Regions from separate parts of the Homo sapiens genome. Here region 1 is linked to region 2. The links are contacts of gene promoters, found by promoter capture Hi-C in human tissues and cell types (Jung and others, 2019). All regions are on one chromosome and are shown on one strand. The core of a region is centred on a gene start or on the middle of the fragment in contact, and the rest is flanking DNA. Distances in the headings are between cores, read along the strand shown. Region 1 overlaps LINC02055 (long intergenic non-protein coding RNA 2055). Region 2 holds the start of KHDRBS3 (KH RNA binding domain containing, signal transduction associated 3).

Evidence for each region. The method cuts DNA at HindIII sites, captures the fragments that hold promoters and counts their contacts. A contact is called where the count stands out against the background at its distance.
Region 1: a fragment that was not itself captured here is called in contact with the fragment with the promoter of KHDRBS3 in region 2 in 1 of the 25 tissues and cell types used here (lymphoblastoid cells).

Annotation. Positions count from the first base shown.
Region 1 is chr8:136,757,688-136,760,387 of GRCh38, reverse strand. The region is part of intron 2 of LINC02055 (long intergenic non-protein coding RNA 2055); the gene reads right to left. Among named protein-coding and RNA genes, the nearest start is that of LINC02055, 230 kb to the right of the region's middle. The HindIII fragment of the contact is 4,067 bases long and covers 1-2,700 here.
Region 2 is chr8:135,456,066-135,458,765 of GRCh38, reverse strand. KHDRBS3 (KH RNA binding domain containing, signal transduction associated 3) reads right to left here and starts at 1,310. Exons shown (of 9, transcript NM_006558.3): 1 at 812-1,310. The coding sequence starts at 899. LOC101927872 (a long non-coding RNA gene) reads left to right here and starts at 791. Exons shown (of 4, transcript XR_002956731.2): 1 at 791-884. RefSeq lists a silencer at 1,139-1,438. The HindIII fragment of the contact is 4,912 bases long and covers 1-2,700 here.

The DNA of each region.
Region 1 (2,700 bases), core at 194-2,693, 1.3 Mb before region 2:
ATGTCCTCATGTAGTCTTTCCTCAATGGGTGTGCATAAAGACAGAGAGAGAGAGAGAAGGAGAAAGTGAGAGCAAGAGCAAGATAGAGAGAGAGAGCGAGCTCTCTGGGATTGCTTCTTGTTAGGACACTGTTCCCATGAGATCAGGATCCCACTGCTATGCCCTCATTTAACCTTAATTCTTTCCTTAGAGGCCCTATCTCCAAATGTAATCACCATACACACTTTGGAGGAACACTAACATCCAGTCCATATCAGTAGAGAAGAAACTAATGTGAATTTATTTAATAAATAATCACTGCTAGCTTACTGTGTTCCAGACACTGTGCTAGCCATTGACATTAAAACACAGGCTCTGTCCTTACTTTCAATTTATAACTTAGTCCTGGAATAAGTTATCATTTACAGTGATAAAACTACACCATGTAAATTACGATTATTTGGTGGGAAACACCAGGAACAGACTTGCTGACTTGCTAGGTATATCAAGAAATGAACACACACACACACACACACGCATGCACGCACACACACACACAGAGAGTATATATTCTTCCTTAATAATATTGGAGAACACCAAATCAAAGCAGGGGTCTTTCATAGGAAATGCAACTACTCAACATTGTCATGAAGATACTATTGAATGAATAAACTCCAGTTAATTTTTTTCATTTGTGTCACTCTTTTCACAACTCAAATGTCCTACAGTTTAAGTAGGTCTTTCCAGCAATGATCCTTATGCTCACTCTGGATAGCTTGAATCACCCCACACACATATACTCACTCAGCCAGTGGCACTGTGCTGGGGATCAGTATCCTCCCACATGGATGGTGTCTTCCCCCCTGTGTAAAATCCCACTGGTCTCAAGACCGTCAGGTTCTGGGCAGCAGGCATTCACAGGCAACTCCTACAGTCAGACGACCCAGCTCCCCAGAAGTGTGGATGTGCCGTCACTGATAAGTCAGCTTTGGCATTTGCTTGGAAGAAGGGAGCATTGGTGTGGTGTGGGGAGTTGGGGTCCCACAGCACGTCCAGCAGAGCACCATGGCCCAAGCACACCTCTTCTGCAACAACTGGAGAGTGGGAGACCTGCATCCTCCATTCATCTGACCTTTATGATGTCTTCAACAATTCTATTTGTTAACCTGCCCAGAGGAAGTGAAATTTGAATGTGTGACTTCAATAACTAGCAGACTTCTTTTTCACTCAGTGAATCGGATACATTTAAAAAAAATCTGTTGTAATAAAATTATAGAACACTTAAAAGCCACAGCAAAATCCAGAAAAGATCCTTAAGAATTTCCTAACACAATGTACTCTTCAGCTTCTGTTTTTCCATGAATCTTGTCTGTTTGTTATGGTAGACAAACTAATTCCCCTCCAACTATCTTGTGGGAATATTTAAATAAATGTGAGCTTTGCTCTGTGGTCTCATGTATTGGGAAAGGTTATGTATTTTCCTTATGCCGCAGTGAGTCACCTGTGGTGTGGATGTGTGTGCATGTATTCCCTGTTTGAGGCTAGAAAGCTGGAACAAGTGACTTATTGGAGCTCTTCTCAGTTTTGAGTTTTATGATAATTGGCGATTGATGATCTTGCTTCTCATTTTTATTATGAAATACATCCCAGTTGCATTTTAAGTAAGCTCTACATACGTGGGAGTATTAGTAAAGAAGGAAACCTATCTTCATTTTGATCACTAGTGGATAAAAAGGTTAAAAAGAAGAATGATACAAAAAAATTAAGGAAGAAACAAGGTAGATAAACTCACTTGAGGTCACAAGTGAATGAGCAGCACCACCATTTTGCATAGTTTGTGATTCAATTCACACATACACACAAACATACACACACACACATACACACACACAAATTGTCTGAAATATAAATGTGTCAAATCACCAATTTTTATTTTATCAATTTATTGATTTATTAAACATTAAAGATTTATAAAGTTCACCAAAATTCTCATCCAATAGGATGATTTTAGTAACTTTCTATTGGTTTTGTTTGTATTGATGTTTGGTGATTCGTTTTTAGCTCATCTTTATACCAGAAGTTTAAGCAACAGATGATTTCTTGAAAGCCAATAGGTAAGTTTGCACTTTTATTATTACTTTAAAAAATGTCTACTATTTAGAAATGTACACTTAATCAGTAACCAAAATTACCGTCTGAGAATAGCATCCTATATCTGAAATCCCTTCACCATAAGTACGGTATGTGTGGGAAGGATTCTGAAAAGAAAACATAGAAAGTTAATAATTCAATTGTTAATACCTAAGAATTCTGGGTTAATCGGTGTGGGACTGAGTCAAAGGTAAAAATCACCTAAATATTAGCTATAAGTAGAAATGACATTTTCATAATTTGAGAGTATTCACAGAAGCTGAAACAATCCCATCACCAAAGAAAGTTTGAAATACAAAAACGACAAAGATAAACTGAAAAATTCAGGTTAATATGACTTTTGTGAAGTTGTTAAAAGATTATGAAAATAATTGATTTTAAAGAAAAATAAAATGCATGAAAATTGAAATTGACCTAAATAATCCAAACAGAAATAAGATCCTGAAATGTTGGTATCTGAGAGGGAATAATTCAGATAAATAAATTTGGCAGCAGTTTACAAAAAGACTCAATATGCTGAAATAAAACTATGCCATACAGCAGGAAGGAAAGATGGCTAGAATAAACTGC
Region 2 (2,700 bases), core at 61-2,560:
GTGTGAAAATGGCAAGGACTCCCTTCACCACTATTCCGAACCTCAAGCCAGCCACCAATGAGGGTCACCCAACCCAACGCCCTCCGGAACGGTGCTCTTTTGCCGGCCTCTTCTCCCCTACTGACTTCTCCAAGGGCCAGCCTGCAAGGCTTGGCATGGGCTGCCCATCCCCTGGGAGGGCTGACTGCCCCGCCAGGGCTGTTGGAGCCTGGACACAGGAGAGACAAAGGGCTGGGAGGGGGAACTGGGCTCCTCCCCTGGGACCACGGAGCTCCTCTCCTCTCAGGTGCTGGGGTCTGACCCCAACCCTCTTCCAAGGTCCCCAAACTTCGCTAACAATGCAAGCACCTGTTCCCTTCACCTCTTCTGCATTTGAGTCCCTCAAGTCCTTCCATTTTCCTCCAGCTTTTTCTCCAGTACCTTAGACAAACCAAACGCCCTACTTCCCCGAGTCCAACACGCTCCCCTTCCATGACATAATTCAACCTCGTTCCCAACGAAGCCCCCAGATGGTCGCTGTCCCCCACCCAGAAGTTTCCCCTGGGTGTGCCCGAGTCCCCAAAGATTTCCTTCAAGTCTCACCCATGCGCCCCAGCCTTCTCCTTCCAAGTCCCCAAAATTCACATCAGGGTCTTCCCCTAGGTGTCCCACAGCCTCCCAGGTCCCCGTGCAAACGACCCCGGGGGCCACCCGGGCCTCCGTCTCCGCCGCGTCCGCTGACAGCAGAGGGCACGGAGGGGCCCCCTGGGCCCCCGCGTTTCCACCCGGCCCCCAACCGCCGCCGGCCGGCAGTTAACGGCCGGCGCCTCACCTTGGTTCACCAGGCGCAGGGCGTGCGTGAAGGAGGGGTCCAGGGAGTCCTTCTCCGCCATCAGCTCGGGCAGGTACTTCTCCTCCATGCTCGCCGGCCGCCGGGCCCGGGATGTGGACTCCAGGCGCACGGGGGGCGGCGCCCGGCAACCCCCGACCCCGCCCGCGCCCCCAGCGGCGGGGACCCGGGGGCCAGACGCGGCAGCAGCGGCCAAGCCGGGCGGTCGGCCGGAAGGCGGCGGCGGCGGCACGGGGGCGGGAACCGACCGCTCAGCCCCGATCCCCGGTGGCCGCCGAGTACCCAGCGCCGGCGGCCCCCGCGCTCCGGGCGCGGGCCGAGGAGGAGCGGGCGCGGGCGGCGCGGTTAGGCGGGCCCTCGGGCCGAGCGGGCTGCGGCGCCCCTGAGGCAGTCCACGGCGATCCCCGCCAGTCCCGCCAGCACCTGCCAGCACCCGAGCCACAGCTGCGACCTGCACGCCGCGCGCCGCCCCGCGCACTCTGAGCCACCGCGCCGAGCGCCCAGCGCCTGCCGCCGGCCCCGCCCCGCCCGGCTCCGCCCCGCCCCGCCCCGCGCCCGCCGCCCCGCCCTGCCGCGCCGCGCCTGCGCACTGGCGCCCACCGCCCCGCCGCCCGCCGCCTCCTGGGGCCGCTCTCCACTGCGAGTCCGCCGGGACTAACCGGGCGTTTGCGAGAGGGGGTGCGTCCAAGGGCCCCTCCCGCGTGTCCGGCGCCCACCTTTGGCCCTGAGGGCCGAGTGGGGAGCCCCACGACGCTATTACAGCCTTTCAGATGCACGGACTGGGAAACTGGGGCTCAGAGAAGTCAAGTGGCTCGCCCAAGGTCACCCAGCGAGTGATCCTGGGAAGAGGGGACAAGGGCCGAGCTGGAGCTGGGAAGGGCGCCCCAGTTCGCCCCAGTCGCGCTCTGAGGAATAGCAGCGGGACCGCCCTGCTCTCTAAAGCTTCCTGGACTTCTCTAAGTTATGTCGCGTTGCTGTCCCCTCGTACTTATAAGAGAGTAAGGCAGGGGCGCCGTCCTTTCTCCGCGCCTGAGCTCAGAGCGCCAACCTCCTGAGATCCGCCAGCTCAGAGGTCGGTTACATAAAAGCGCGTGCCCTTCTGGGCGTCTTTGTCATCCCGACTTGCTCCTGGGTTGTCATTCTCTTAGGTCATAAACCGGCTGTGCCTGGACACAGCTGAGTGAGCCGCGTCTGAGCTCATCCGCTCCTGGGGAGAGGCCCTGGGACGCCCCGCCTGTCGGTGGCAATGCTCTCTGTCCCCTTCCGCCCACCCCCAACCCCCAGCAAATGCTCTCCAAGGCCATTTCAGATTTCCCGAGGCATGTGGAATAAACGTCCCCCAGGAAGGCGAAGGACTCCAGTCCTTGCCCTGCCATTTTTCCTGCCTTCAAACAGCCAGCTCAAGTCCCGGCCTCAATGTCACCTTCCCTGGACAGCCTCTCAGGACCTCCCTGGCAAAGCAAGTCACAAGTCCCTTCTCTGTGTCCCCCCAGCTTGGTCAGAGGTCATTCACAGACAGCTGTAATTCTGTTTTCAGTAGACCATGAGCATCAGGGACAGAGTTTGAGTTTTGTTTTTGAGGGGGAAGGTCACCAGTGTGTAGTACAGGGGGCAGGGATGGAGGGTACTGGAAATGTCTCTTGGAGGAATAAGTCAGTGGCATACCACTCTCAGCCAATAGCCTGAGGACAATCGCCACAGTCCCCCAGGCAGCCCCCCCGCACTCCCAATGCAAATGGAGGCAGCTTTACAAACCCGAGGGGAGTGGGAGGTGGTAGAAATCTTGGAAGCTCTAAGTCCCAGACCCGAGTACTCAACTGCCCTCACTCTCAAGGCTCCACTCCTCCCCCGGCTAAGGTGTCATTTCAGAG